Linked DNA regions of Homo sapiens: all the other regions are linked to region 1. The links are contacts of gene promoters, found by promoter capture Hi-C in blood cells and fetal thymus (Javierre and others, 2016). All regions are on one chromosome and are shown on one strand. The core of a region is centred on a gene start or on the middle of the fragment in contact, and the rest is flanking DNA. Distances in the headings are between cores, read along the strand shown. Region 1 holds the start of TNS1-AS1 (TNS1 antisense RNA 1). Region 2 overlaps DIRC3 (disrupted in renal carcinoma 3). Region 3 overlaps TNS1 (tensin 1).

What was found. The method cuts DNA at HindIII sites, captures the fragments that hold promoters and counts their contacts. A CHiCAGO score of 5 or more calls a contact.
Region 2: a contact is called between a fragment that was not itself captured here and the fragment with the promoter of TNS1-AS1 in region 1, in 3 of 17 cell types (M2 macrophages, total B cells and naive B cells). The highest score is 7.2, in M2 macrophages.
Region 3: a fragment that was not itself captured here is called in contact with the fragment with the promoter of TNS1-AS1 in region 1 in 2 of 17 cell types (naive B cells and total B cells); the score reaches 5.8 in naive B cells.

What each region holds. Positions count from the first base shown.
Region 1 is chr2:217,976,429-217,981,243 of GRCh38, forward strand. It overlaps TNS1-AS1 (TNS1 antisense RNA 1), which reads left to right and starts at 2,279. Exons shown (of 4, transcript NR_135524.1): 1 at 2,279-2,416. It overlaps TNS1 (tensin 1), which reads right to left. Exons shown (of 33, transcript NM_001387777.1): 3 at 2,337-2,374. RefSeq lists an enhancer at 2,275-3,163. The HindIII fragment of the contact is 9,016 bases long and covers 1-4,815 here.
Region 2 is chr2:217,767,553-217,772,367 of GRCh38, forward strand. The region is part of intron 2 of DIRC3 (disrupted in renal carcinoma 3); the gene reads right to left. Among named protein-coding and RNA genes, the nearest start is that of DIRC3, 20 kb to the right of the region's middle. The HindIII fragment of the contact is 1,756 bases long and covers 1,429-3,184 here.
Region 3 is chr2:217,804,843-217,809,657 of GRCh38, forward strand. It overlaps TNS1 (tensin 1), which reads right to left. Exons shown (of 33, transcript NM_001387777.1): 31 at 3,761-3,829; 32 at 3,233-3,265. Among named protein-coding and RNA genes, the nearest start is that of DIRC3, 17 kb to the left of the region's middle. The HindIII fragment of the contact is 1,487 bases long and covers 1,596-3,082 here.

The sequences.
Region 1 (4,815 bases), core at 1,029-3,528:
TCAGAGAAAGACCCACCAGCTGGGTGGAGCGCTCACCACCAGTGGGTCCCATTCCCTATAGAGGAAACTCCTATACAAAGCCCATCTGTCTGCCTGGTTGCTGCCCTGCCAGTCTACCCTCTCCCCCACTTAGTTGGCCTCCTTGGGCAGGGCAGAGCAGCACTGCGGCAGCCTGGTGCATTCTGAGCCCCCAGCACACGTGAGAGACTCCTCAGGTAGGCTATGCCCCCAAAAAGTCATCTTTGCCATTTGCCTGTTCCCATGCACAAGGCTACTGCATGACAAGGGGCCATCTGTCATATCTTTCTGGGCCTCTCTGGGCCACCCATCTCCCCCAATCAGACCCTTCACTGCCCGGAAGTTTATCCCCTTATCCTTCCTAAATATATCCTGCTGCTGTCAAGAGATGGAAAGCAAAAGGAAGAATGGCAGGCAAGGATGGAGAAATGCATGCCAGTAGGCAGTGAGAGACAAGGAGAAGGAAGCACAAAGGCCCAGGGACAGAGAGCAGGTGAAGAATTACACCGGGACACCTTGGGGAAGTCACTCAACGTGGGGCGCCTCAGTTTCCTCATCTGTAAAACAACAGAATCTTTTGGCCAATGTTTTATGCTCTAAAGGAATTAAAAGAACAAAGTCTGATAATGCATGTGAAATGCTGTCTAAGACCCAAAGCACTGTACAAATGTCCATTGCTATTAAAAGAAAAGGTTGCAGGAAGGGCAGTACGAAGGGGTAGACTGGGGAGGAGCAAGAAAACTGGAAAGTTCTGGAGTTTAAGGCAAAAAACTCTGCTCTGGATAAACAGAACAAGGAGGGAGGTGGAAGGAGAAGCAGAAACGTACTCTCCATCCAGGGGAGGAAAGGCTGAGAGAGGCCGCAGGAAAGGAGAAGACAAGGGAAGGGGCAGAAAACCCACTGCATGGAGGTACCTGCTGCAAGCCAGGCCCTCTGCATCTCTGCAAGGGGAGCATTCCAAGCTGGAGTCTACAGATGGAGACGCCCTCCAGCAAGGTGTGTGCTCGGCTTTAGTAAAGTTTCTTTGGAGGAAGATTCTTCCCAGACCTGCTTGATCCGTCAGCACCCCTTCCCCAAGGTAACACTTGTCCCTCTAAGCTCCCAGTAGCTGAGCATCAGTCATGACATTTTTGAGCACCCACCCTGTGCCAGGCACTGGGCTGGGCACTTCACATACATTACCTCATTGAATTCTCACAACAACTTTATGAGGTAGGCTTCTTATTCCCATATCCTTGAGAATGAAACAGAAACTCAGAGAGGTACATAACTTGCCCAAGGCCACCCAGCTAATAAGAAGCAAAACATGAGATGTACCAGATACAGGTCCTCAACTGCTCAATGAATGCTCCTTCTGGAAGCATCTTCTCCTTCTACTCCCTGAACTCCTTGAAAGGTCAAATATGAAGAGCAAACGTAGGGAGTGAAAGGGCAGGGAGGGTTACAAGCAACAATGGCAGAAGGTGCAGACATTGGCTGCAAGTGAAAGGCAAGGAACGCCATTTCCACCCCTAGGCAGAGCTGAGCCCATTGGACAGAACCATTTCCTTCCCAAACTCATAATCCATCTTGGTGCCAATCCCCCACCCCCTGTTACTCCAAGAAGCTGATATATGACTCCTGTGTCCAAACCTCAGTGGATACATCAGGGGCTGAGCCAGCCTGGCCAACCAGGGCCCAGCAATCCCTCCAGTCTTCTTGCCTCAGTTTCCCTTTCCCATCAAGACCAGCCAGAAAATACTCATGGGGAAATTGAGGACCAAAAGAAGACCTGGCCAATAAAGAGGAAGGGACAGTCTCTCAGGCGGTTCCAGACCAGCCAATCCTGACCTCCGACCTCATTCTCCATTTATCCCACCCACCCGCTTCTCCTGCCCTCGGGGTCCTGTGGCTGTGGACACTGAGGTTTTCTAGGTTGGCCAAATTGAGCCAACTGGGGTTGTGCGCGGCCCGGGGTAATTGAAATGGATCCCCTCCCCCTTTCCCTCTCCCCCTTGAGAACTAGCAGAAACACCTTCAAAGGCCGCTCTCTGGGAGCTCGGTCCCCATCAGCCACCCCCGGTAACCGCCCAGATTGCGCTCCGCGCCCCCCACCCAGATCCCCCGATTCCCCAGCCCGCCCCTGCCCCCGCCCCCGGGCCTTCGCCTTCACCTTGACCTGCGCCCGCTCCCAGGCCCAGGCGCTTTGCATAAACAAAGAGAGGAGGAGGGACGCCCCGGGCACCGCCCCCGCCCCGCCGGCGCCCCCGCTCCAATCTGGGACCCCGAGCCAGGCCTGTCCCAAGTCCTCCCGGGCCCGCCAGCCCGCGGCCCCTTACCTTGGCCTGGCATTTCCGATGACAGGAGAAGCTGCAGACTGCAAGAGGGCGAGACACAGAAAGAAAGTTTTAGCCGCGAGGTATGAAATGGAAACTCCGCGAAATCTCCTCCCACCCCAGCCCGCAATCCGCGCTCGGGAAGGAAGGAGGGAAGGAGGGACGGAGGGAAGGAGAGAGGGAGAGAGGGAGGGGACGGAGGGGAGCGGCTGCCGGGCCTGCGGGGCGGGAGTGCCCGGGACTGAGGACCCGCGGCCGGGGAGGCAGGGGGCTCCCAGAGCCAGAGCCCCTCCGGGTGCGGGAAGGTGGGGGGAGCAAAGGGGGGGGTCCCCCACTGGACCCCTGCCAGGGGCAGAGGTAGCCCGGACCCGGGCCCCACGCCAGCCCCACCAAGGAATAAGGGGGGCCTTCTCCCCTTACACACACACCAGGCAGGCAGACGACATCGCAAACCACAATCACACTTACTCTGCCCCAGAGACAGACACACAGACACAATTCAGAGTCCAGGAGCGGGCCCACGCATATACACATTACACCCACACCCACACACTCACCCAGAACCACTCCCACCCATCCACACAGCCATCCACGCACACACACACAGTCTCACACACACAGATTCATCCAGGAAGAGCCCTGACTCAGGGCACCAACACACACAATTTTGTGGGACACCATCAGTTGCAGCCTGACACAGATTTGTGGACACAGACACGTGAACAGATGCTCACATAAACTTCATGTGCATGACTTGAAACACACAGACACACACACACACACACACACACAGGACTTGCTCTTCCTCCCATTACCAGAAGCTGGAATCAAATTTCCTATAAGGTTCCCGAAGCCTGGAATGTCCCCAGCCCTGCCGCCCCACCCCCCAGGGCTCTGGGACTCCACCAAGGGATTTGGTGACCTCCCTGCAGATCTCATGGGTGGGCGAGGGGTCTCCCGAGTTGGGTTTTGCACTGCTTTGGGTCTTGTTGGCTGCCCAGGACCTGCTAAGGCTGGGGGGTTAGGAACTCTGGTTAGAGAACTGGGGAGGGGGAGATAGGGGAGTGCCCTGACTCCAAATCCTCAACAGCCACAGCCCAGGACCACAGCCATCCACCTCCTTCTCCTGGATCTATTGCACCCCACCCCCTTCCAGCTTTGAACCAACCTGATTCTCAGCAGACTGCAGAAAGGGAGGTTGAGGCACAGATGAATGCCCGGAGCAGCCCAGGGAGGCTCCGGGGTTCCCCACACTAAGGCTTCTTCTGATTTGTCTGAGGCAGAAGGGGCTGGGCATGGGGAAGGGGGAGAAGCTGGGAAGCACACTGGGTGGTGCCTGGAAAGGGACCTTGGCCACTGGCCCTAACATGGGATCTTCTTCTCTCAGAACCTAGTCCTGGCCCAGCCCAGGCCTGTGACTCACCGGTGCTGAGCAAGGTTTTCCTGACCCCACCAGCCACCCAGCCTAGCTCAGGGACATCTCCACCCTGGCCACAGCAGGACATACTCCCCACTCAGCCACACAAGCGTTACCCATCACTCTGGTCTTTCTGCTTCTCCCTCTCCCTCAGCACCACCACCAGCCCGGGTAGCAACTCCCTCACTTCGCAAAGGTGTTCCCTCTTGGACACCAGCAGCCTCCCTTGCCCCACCCCATCCAAATAGAGGAAACGTCCCCTTTGTTGGTCCAACAGTGTGGGCTCCTTCCAGGGGGACCTGCCTCTCTCTCTCTCCTACACACACACAGAGAGAGAGAGAGAGAGAGAGAGAGAGAGAGAGAGAGAGGAGCCTGGTACACAGGAGAGGCTTAATAAACGTTTGCTGAGTTGGACCTGTCTGAAGATATCCCCTGTGGTTTATGCGCACCCCAATTTAGTCATGTCCCCCCGACTCTCAGATCGTTCCTGAGCTGTAGACCGCCACCTCAACATCTCATGTTCAACCAAAAAGGCATCTCTAAGCATCCACCCCAGTCTAGACATGAGGGACACAATGGGGGCCGGGACTCCACCTCCCTCCAGCATGCTCCCTGCTCTGCCAGTTCCCAGAGTGCCTCAGGGCCTTGGCACTTGCTGTGTCAGCTGCCTGGTACACTCCCCCTCACCCCAGCACCCCATCGTTCCCTGGACCAAATCCCTCTTATCCTTTGGGAATCCACCCAAAGTCATCTCCTCAAAGAGGCCTCCCCTGACCACTCAAATTAGAGTAGCTTTCCAATTATTCCTTTTCAGCACACCGGTTATTTCCTGGTTATTTTCTGAAGTTGCCCTGGGTAACTTCTCTCTAATCTATCTCCCCACACTACACTCAGAGGGCAAGGAGCATGCCTGTCTCCTTTGCACTGTAGCCCCAGCAGCTAGGACAGTGTCTGCTTCAGGCCCATGAGACCATACAGCATCTTTGTGCAAACTAGAAGGAGGCCCATCCCCTGGGCAGACCAGCCCCAGGGACACACAGCTGGGCTCATGCACAGTGTCTTTGT
Region 2 (4,815 bases), core at 1,057-3,556, 210 kb before region 1:
TTTGGACAACAACAGTTTAAATGACCATAGACTTCTCCTCAGATGTCACAGGGGTCAGAAGACTGGAGAACAACATCATTAAAGTGCTGAAATAAGAAAACTATCAACATGGAATTTTATATCTAGTTAAACTTGAAAAGTAAGAGCAAAATACATTTGCAGATAAAAGAAAAGCAAATGAATTTGTTCTAGCCATTAATTCTGGCTTATGAGAGATGATAACAGAGGCAAACCCAGATCTTTAGGAATGAATGGAGACCAACAGAAATAGTGAATATCTGAATAAATCTGAGTAAATATAAAAGTCTATTTTTCTAATAACTTCTTTCAAATAAACATGAATAAGGAAAAATTGTGAAATTCTCTTGTCCAGTTTATAATGTATATAATACAACTGTAACATAAATGCAGGTGAGGTTATAAATTAATCTATATGGTCACAAGGTGCCTATATTTTATGTAAAGTGGTACAATAGCAATCTTAAATAGACTGAGAAAAGTTAAGGATATGTTGTAATGCTTAGAACAATGACAAAAATAAAATTTAAAAAAACAAAGAGGTATAGATTAAAAACTAATAAATACATAAAATGAATTTAAAAATGCTTGAGCAATCCAGAAGAAAGCAGAAAAACAGGAAAAGAGAAACAAAAAATAAGTGACACAAACATAAAACAAATAACAAAATGGCAGACCTAAGTTTAAGCATATCAATAATTATATTAATTATTAACGGTCTCAACATCCAAATGGAAACACAGAGGTTAGAGAAATGCATTTAAAAATAAACAATAAAAAACATAACCCAACACACTTTAAATATAAAGATAGGAATAAGTTCAAATTAAATGAATGCAAAAAGATATATTATGCAAACCATAAGAGAGCTAGATTAGGTATATAAATATCTGATAAAATAGAATTCAAGATAGAATAGTACCAAAAAATGAAGAGGGAAATTTTATAGTGACAAAAGGATCAATTTATCAATGAGACTTAATAACCGTAAATGAGTATAGATCTATCAACAGAGCCTCAAAATACATGAAACGAAAATTGACAGGATTAAAAGGAGAAATAGAAAATTCCATAATCACAATAGGTTTTTAACACCTCTCTCTCAGCAAGCGATAGAGCAACTAGACAGAAACATCAGTAAAGATCTATAAAAATAATGGTATTATTCAGGAATCTGAATAATAATATTCGCCATGTTGACCTAACTAATAGTTACAAAACACTACCTAACAACTGCAGAATACACATTTATTTCAAGTGTGCACTATGTGTTTGCTGAGATTTACCATAGTCTGGGCACAAAACAAGTCTCAATAAATTTAAAAGAATTAAAATCATACAGAATATTTCTCTAACCACAACCAAATTAAATTAGAAACAAATAAAAGTAAGATAGGCAGAAAAACCCAAAGCTTGTGATAAGATTCTTAACACACTCAGCAGAATGTTTAAAATTAAAAAGACTGACAATACCAAATGTTAGTGAGGATATGGAGCAACTGGAACCTTCATGCATTGTTGGTGGAAATGAGAAATGATACAACCACTTCCAAGAAGTGACAGGATTTTTTTTTTAAGTTAAACAGCATACTCTGGTTTTTCTTCAGATTGCATAAATCTTTTACCTTTCACTAAAATTTTAACATACACCTACCATATGACCCCACCAGCCCATTTCTAGGTATTTACCCATGAGAAATCCACGCATTTGTCCACAATAAGCTCTGTATGTAAACGTTCACAGAAGTTTTATTCTTAATAGCCAAAACACTGGAACCAACTTAAATATCCATCATTTAACTGAATGAATAAGCAAAAAATATAGTATATTTATACAAAGGAATACTACTCAGCAAGAAAACAGAACAAACTACTGATAAACACAAAAGCATGGAAGAATCTCAAAATCAGGCAGAGGAAAAGAAGGCAGAAATGTATATATGGATGGATGGATGGATGGATAGATAGACATACACACAGACATATATCTAGTATTACTCCATTTATATAAAATCTTTAAAAAATGAAGCATGTAAAGGAATAGAATCAGTGGTTACCTGGGACTCGGAGTAGAGGGAAGGGTGTACTGTAATGGGACATAAGGAATCTTTTGGGGCGGATGGAAAAGTTTTGCCTCTTGATTATGGTCGTAGTTTCGTGGCTATATACAACTGACAAAATAGTGTGCCCTTTAAGTGAATTCAACTTATTGGGTGTTATTTACACCTCAAAGATGATATTTTTAAATTTCAGCACAAAAAATTAAAAATGGGATCAAGTGGGATTATTCTAGGAATACCAGGATAACTCCTTAAAATCCATTAATACAGTTTATTATGTTAAGAAACAATAAAACGTGATTATCTCCATACATTCTGGGGGAGCATTTGATCAGATTCTGCACTCATTCTTGATATTTAAATTTAAAAGCAAATAAAATAGAAATGTGTGGATATTTCCTTGACATGATAAAATGTTTTGAATAGAGAACTACAGAAGCTATTGATGTTAAAGTCAGAAATAAGACAATGATTACTATATTCACTTCCTATTGCTGCCACCACAAATTTAATAGCCTAAAACAACACAAATGTATTCTCTTACAGTTCTGGAAGTCAGAGTCTAAATGGTCACACTGAGTTAAAATCAAGGTGCCAGCAGGGCTGCATTTCTTTCTGGAGGCTCTAGGAGAAAATTGATACACTTACCTTTTTCAGCTTACTAAAGGCTATCTGCATTCCTTGGTTCATGGCTCTCTTCCATCTTCAAAGCCAGCATTTGCATCATTCTGACCTTGGCTTCTAACATTGCATCTCCTTCTCTGACTCTTACTCTCCTACCTGCCTCTTACAAGGACTCTTGTGATAATCTTCCCATCTCAGGGTCCTTAACTCAATCACATCTGCAAAGTTCCTTTGCCATGTAAGTTAACACATTCACAGGTTCCAAAGATTAGGACATGGACGTCTTTGGGGTGGCCATTATTCTGCCTACCACACTTACCAAGTGCAAATGCGGCCAATAATCAGGTAGACAAGATGGCCTATTCAATGGATCTCCATTGACCTCTTTACCCAGACACCCCAGTATTTGCTCAATGGGCTCACTAACAACGTGGCCACAATAGCAGGGATGGAGGTTACACAAGGGCTTGGATTTCCCTTTAAGCTTGATCCAGCTTCCACTATTGCTGAGTACTCAGCTGCAGAGACCAATACTGAGTGCCCAGTACAGTATGTAGCCACCCTATTAGACACCTTCCATCATGGAGGAGGAAGCAATTTACCCTTGCTGGAATAGACATTTCCTGGAATATGCATTTGTCTTCTCTGCCTGTTGTAGTTTGACTAAAAGCAGCATCTATGGACTTTCCGAATACTTGAATTACCCTCCCAATCCCTTGCAACATTGTTTCTGTCCAGGAAAAATAATTTTAAAGCAATGGATGATAGGCTTATTTCTACAGCATACACTTGTCTTATCATGGAACCTCATCATCCCAAAGCAGGTGGAGTAATAGAACAGTGAACAAACCTGTTGAAGGCTCAATCACAGCTCCAATTTGGACTCACTCAACACCTTATGAGAGTTGGGTGTCATTTGCAGCATGCAGTATATACTCAGAACTGGAGACTAATAATATGGTTCTTTTGCTCTCATAGCCGAAAATGTGTGTATTCAGTAACTAAGGGAGAGAAATAGGAGAGGTGCCCCTCACTATTAAACCTAATGGTCCCTTATAAACTTTTTTTCCCATTCACTGGGCTCAGCTGACATCAAGACATAAGTGCCCAAAAGAGAAATTCTTCCCCTAGGTAACTAAAAATGGTTCCACTAAACAAAGAACTAGGAACCTGTTTCTTTTTATGCCACTAATCAACAGATAAAGGCAAAGGGGGACTAAGGTTGCTATATCTTGGGTGGCAGCAGGGGAAAATGTGTCAAGAACCCAAAGGATCCTTTGGAGCATCTTCAGTTATTAGCAAAATGAATAGAACATACAGTGACCCAATAGAGACAGTATTCAAAACCCTCAGGAATAAAGTTTTTGGTCACTTCACCAGATAAATACCAAAATGATTACTACAATCTCGTGACCAGTTAGAGAAATGAGGAATGTAACAGCCACCTATACTCTTAACCTGCGTTATTTTTAAAAAACAAAACAAAATTACTTTTCTGTTTGTTTTTTTTTTTTTCCATTTCCCCACCATTTTCATAGAATGTGTTTTGGTGGATAACTTTATAATGTAATCCATGAGCTACAAAATATCAGTTGGAATTATATAGAAACTAGAGAGGGAAGGCTCATCACCAAGTGATAGTTGTAATTACTGATGGGACTTCAGGTGTCTCATCTGTTTTGGGGAAGATAGTGAGTTTGTTTTTTCTCTATAAGAGAGTATTGTATTATATTAAAAGGGAAAATGTTTTTGTTGTTATCAATGTTGTTTGTCAGTTTAAGCATGGATAAAAGAATATGGTTAGTCCAAGGAATGGAGTTTAATCATTATGGTGGGTTGACACTCAGTCTCCATCCCATCTTCTCTCTAGTATGCTTTTCTGAATGGAAGAACCTAGAAAACTAAGAACTACATTTTCCAGATTCCATTGTAGCTAGAGTTTTAGATGTAATTTATATGCTGCCAACTAGATTCATTCAAGGTTTTTGAAGTCTAACGTGAGGCAAAGGTGGAGGTGACGTTTCTACTGCTTGTGCTGTTTCCTGCTGGCATCCTGTGGAATTGCTGGCTTTTCTGTGGCAACATTAACAGAGGTCCAAGTATCTAGCCACAA
Region 3 (4,815 bases), core at 1,089-3,588, 170 kb before region 1:
TGAAGGGGTGCGAGGGGAGCTGCAGAGGATTGACAAGGCTGGATAGTGAGGGGTGGGGAGGAGACCAAAATAAAATGGGAACATTCCTAGACAGGCCTCTCCCCGCCCATCCCAGCCCTACCCCTACTGACTGTTCTTACACACAACACATATGCCAATCAGGAAAGTGCTGTCTGCCTGCAAACGGCTCAGCCTCCTCAGACACCACAAGGTCAGGGAGACAAAGGTCAAGTAGCTCACACCCCTCCACACACACACACTTATTCTTCCTGGGCTCAAGAACCTTGGAAGCCAGAAAATAAAAGGGAAGGTGGACCCCACACCCGTTCCCCACCCCCACCCGCAGGACTGGAGTGACCCAGCATTCTCTTCGCAAAACAGAGTTAAAAATATGAGGGCAGAGAACAGAATGTGAGCTCAGGTCCCCTCCCAGCCAGCATGTTGCTAATTAGAGCGAGATGGGGAAATGAGGACAGCTGGAGATTCCTATGAAAACCCCTCTCCCTACCGCAGGACCACGGCAGCTGAAGTTAGCAAAGGGGGATTCTGCTGGTCCCTGTGTGCCTGTGTGTACAAACCACCACACACATGCACCACACACATACACACCATCACACACACCACCACACACACCACACACACCACACACACACCACACACACCACCACACACACCACACACACCACACACACCACACACACCACCACACACCACACACACCACCACACACACCACACACACAACACACACCACCACACACCACACACACCACACACATACACACCATCACACCCACACACATCACACACACACAACACACATATCACCACACACATACACACCATCACACACATCACCACATGCATACACCACACACACACCACTGCACACACCACACATACCACCACACATACACACCACACACCACCACACACACATACACCACACACACACAAACCATGCATACATACATATACAGACCACACACATACACAACATATACACACCACACACAACACGCAAACACAACATATACACACACCACACACACACACACACACACACACATAATCCAGCATTTCCTACAGCTCTGCTCCTCCAGTCTTGTTTCAGGGGCCAGGAGCAACAGGGCCAAAGGCCTGGGGTAATGCCCAGGTGGTGGGGGAGCTGGGGTCCACAGGGCATCCCCCAGCACCTCCCTTTCCCAGCTGGCTCAGACCATGAGCAGGGGTGGGGGTGATCCTGGCAGAGGGAGGAAGCATGCCAGCCCTGGCTGCGGGTGTCTACCAGGATGGAGACCCGGCAACTGCACCTGACTGGAGCACCGAGCCTGCCCTCCCCTGATATTTCTTTCAGCTGTGGCTTCCAGGCTCCCGCAATAGCCCAGTCCTGTCATCTGCCACAAGGAATAGATCCAGGCAAGAAGCCTCAGCCCGCAAGGGCAGGAGGAAGCGCTTGCAAGATCCCAAGATCTAACATCTCCTTGAATTTTGCACATGAGATCCCTGGCTGGCCTCACCTCGTCCCTGTCATGATTCCCTGTTAGCCCACTGCCCTGCTTGGCCTCTCCCTGTGGCCTCTGCCCCACCCATCAAAGCTTCTTCAGCAGGAGGCTCAACTCAAAACCAGCTCCTGAAGGAGGAAAAGAGGGATTTCCAGGCTTGGGGGCCCAGTTCCCTTCTGTCCCTGACCTTCTTCCCTCGCAGGGCCCTGTGGTGAGTGAGCACAAGCCCCTTCAAACAGGAAGTTCCAGCCTGCTGCCTTGGCCAGCAGAGACACGGGAAATGCAGGAACTCAAAGCACTGATGACCCTATGAAGCCTGGACAAGGCTGAACCCCACCATCCCACATGGCCTCTCCTAAGCTACCATCACTGACCATGTGATAGACTAGTCAGTCCATTCATTCGGACTGAGGCATTCTCACTAGCCTCCTCCTGCCTCTGCTCTTCCAGCCTCCATTCTCTCATTTCTTCACTCAACAAATATATACCACCTCCCCATGTGTCAGACATGGCCCTTCCCTTGGGGAGCTTGCAGGCTGGTGGCCATGAGGCCCCTCCCCTGAAATAGCCCCTCCTACTCCCATTCTCATTTTGACCTGTCCAAATTGAACCTGTCTTTGAAGACCCGTCCTTAAATATCTGCTCTTTCCACCTCTCTGAGGTGCTGATGTGTTCTCCTGCATGAGCTCCCCAGACGTAAGCTGAACTCTCTTGCTGCCTCTCCCTCCCTTGCAACTGTCATTTTTTTAACACTGAACGTTTTGTTTTTCTAAAGCAACCTTATATGAAGTCTGCATATATAAAGGTGAAAGCAGTATTTTACAGCTATAAACAGCAATCCAAAAGCACGACATTTACCTATTATAAAGTCAATCAGTGAGGATAATAGGGCTGTTGGAATAATCCTGACAAAGTGAAAAGTAGATGACAGATCATGGTGATAGTCTCATGTCAGCTTCAGACCCCAGGTTATGCCTATATTTTGTTTGGTTTTGTGATTGTGAAAAAACCCTAGTTACTGCTGATAGACAACTGCAAGGAGCAGCAGAGCTTTCCCTCTCTTCTGTACATCAGGTACAATCCAAGGATGCTAGGATCCTTGGAATACAGTTTGAAAATCACAGAAGCATCTTAGTGCTATTTAGACATCTGTCTTATCTGCTGTGCCAATGGGCCTCCTGAGGGCAGGGTCAGAGACCCAGGCAGGATCTGAGTCCCTTGGAGGCCCCTAGGACATGTCTGCTGGATGGAGGAATCCACCCGAAGGTCCCAGGGCCATCCCCAGAATTCAGACTTTCTGGGCTCCCACATTCTGATAAGGCTGATTTGCTCGGCCACAAGACTCACAGGAAAGCCCACCAAAAAAGCAAGAGCAGAAATAAAGGCAGCTAGAATTGGGGCAGAAAAGATCATGTAAGCAATCTCTGACCCATTTCCATTGCTTCTAATAAGACTGTTTTCTGTCCACTTCCTGCCATCCCTGCTGCTTCTAACCCTGGGAGAGTGAAGGCAGCTGGACCAGACGCTGGGCCTCTGGCCTCGAGGCAGGACAAGGCAAAAGGCCTGGAAGCCTGGTCAAGCTTCACTCGGAAGCTGAGTGACCTTGGCACAAAGGTTTTTGCTGCTCTTTCCCTACCCCCAGCCCTGGTTTCTAAATGTGCCCCGTGCTTCCCTCACTGTGAAGTACAAAGGCCAGCCTGCTGGGCAGGGGTAAGAAGTCACACTTACTTAGCAGGGGCACCACCCTCTGTTTTCATCCACCTGTGGAGAGAAAGTGGGCTCAGGGTAAATCATCGTACTTTCTCCCTAGAGCCCAGCCCCACCCATGCCCAGACCCTCTGCAGGAAGGTCTGGGGAGAGGAGCTGCCCCCCATTCCCCCCTCATTCCCCCATTCCCCCATTCCCCAGGGACAGGAGCTGCCCAAGATCACACAGATGCATTCAAGGTCGAGAGAACACTGCAGCCTGCCTCCTGAGGGGCTCTCCCCATCATGGAGAGGAGAAGCAGATTCAAGGTCAGGGCATGGCAGAGGGGGTAGCAGTGGGCACTGAGTCCCTGGGAGGGTCTCCATATCTATAGTGGGAAAGACTCAAAAGATGCCCAACACGATTACTCACACATGGGCAGACCTTCCAGCTGAATGGAGAATGTATGCACATGCACACACACACACACACACATGCACATGCATGCACCCACACAGACGTCAGTGTTAGAAAGCTGTGTGGGAGAGAAGCTGTGTACAAGAGACTTACTTTCTTTCCTGTGGATCCAGGTCACAGAAGGTGACAGTGTTGAGAGGGTAGTGGCGTCTGAAAAAGAGCCTGCAGCACAGACATCAGATAAACAGAGAATGAGTGCTGAAGGGGCTGCTTTTCCCCTCCTTCCACCAGCAGGTCAGGCCACCTTTCCACCATCTGTGGCTATCGCAGGTCCACACAACTTCTCTCTTATGAGCAAGATGGCCTGAGCTGTTGACACTGGTGACCCAAGCAATGTACAGAGACAGATGTGCCATAGAATCATCCCAAATGCTAGGGGCTGGGGAAGGAAGAAACTGGCACTGAGGAATAGGAAATGTGGGGAGGGGCTGGAAGAAGAAGCAAAGAGGCCAGGGACACTGTTAGGAGAGAGTCCAAGTGGACGGGCTCTGCTCCTAGAAAGCAGGTCCTTTTTATCAGTTGTATTTACAGCCGTATACCCAATGCTGGCAAATTCTCATAGAAGGATGGATGAATGGGTGGATGGATAGATGAATGGAGATACAGATGGATGAAGGGAAAAACGGGTGGTAAGGGATAGATGAGGGATGAATAAATGCAGGGATGGAGGCATGGATGGATGGATGGATGGATGGATGGATGGATGCATGGATGGATGGATGGATGGATGGATGGATGGATGCATGGATGGATGGATGGATGGATGGATGCATGGATGGATGGATGGATAGGTGCATGGATGGATGCATGGATGGATGGATGGATGGATGGATGGATGCATGGATGGATGGATGGATGGATGGATGCATGGATGGATGGATGGATGGATGGATGGATGGATGGATGCATGGATGGATGGATGGATGGATGGATGGATGGATGGATGGATGCATGGATGGATGGATGGATGGATGGATGGATGCATGGATGGATGCATGGATGGATGGATGGATAGGTGCATGGATGGATGCATGGATGGATGGATGGATGGATGGATGGATGGATGGATAGGTGCATGGATGGATGGATGGATGGATGGATGGGTGCATGGATGGGTGCATGGATGGGTGCATGGATGGATGGATGGA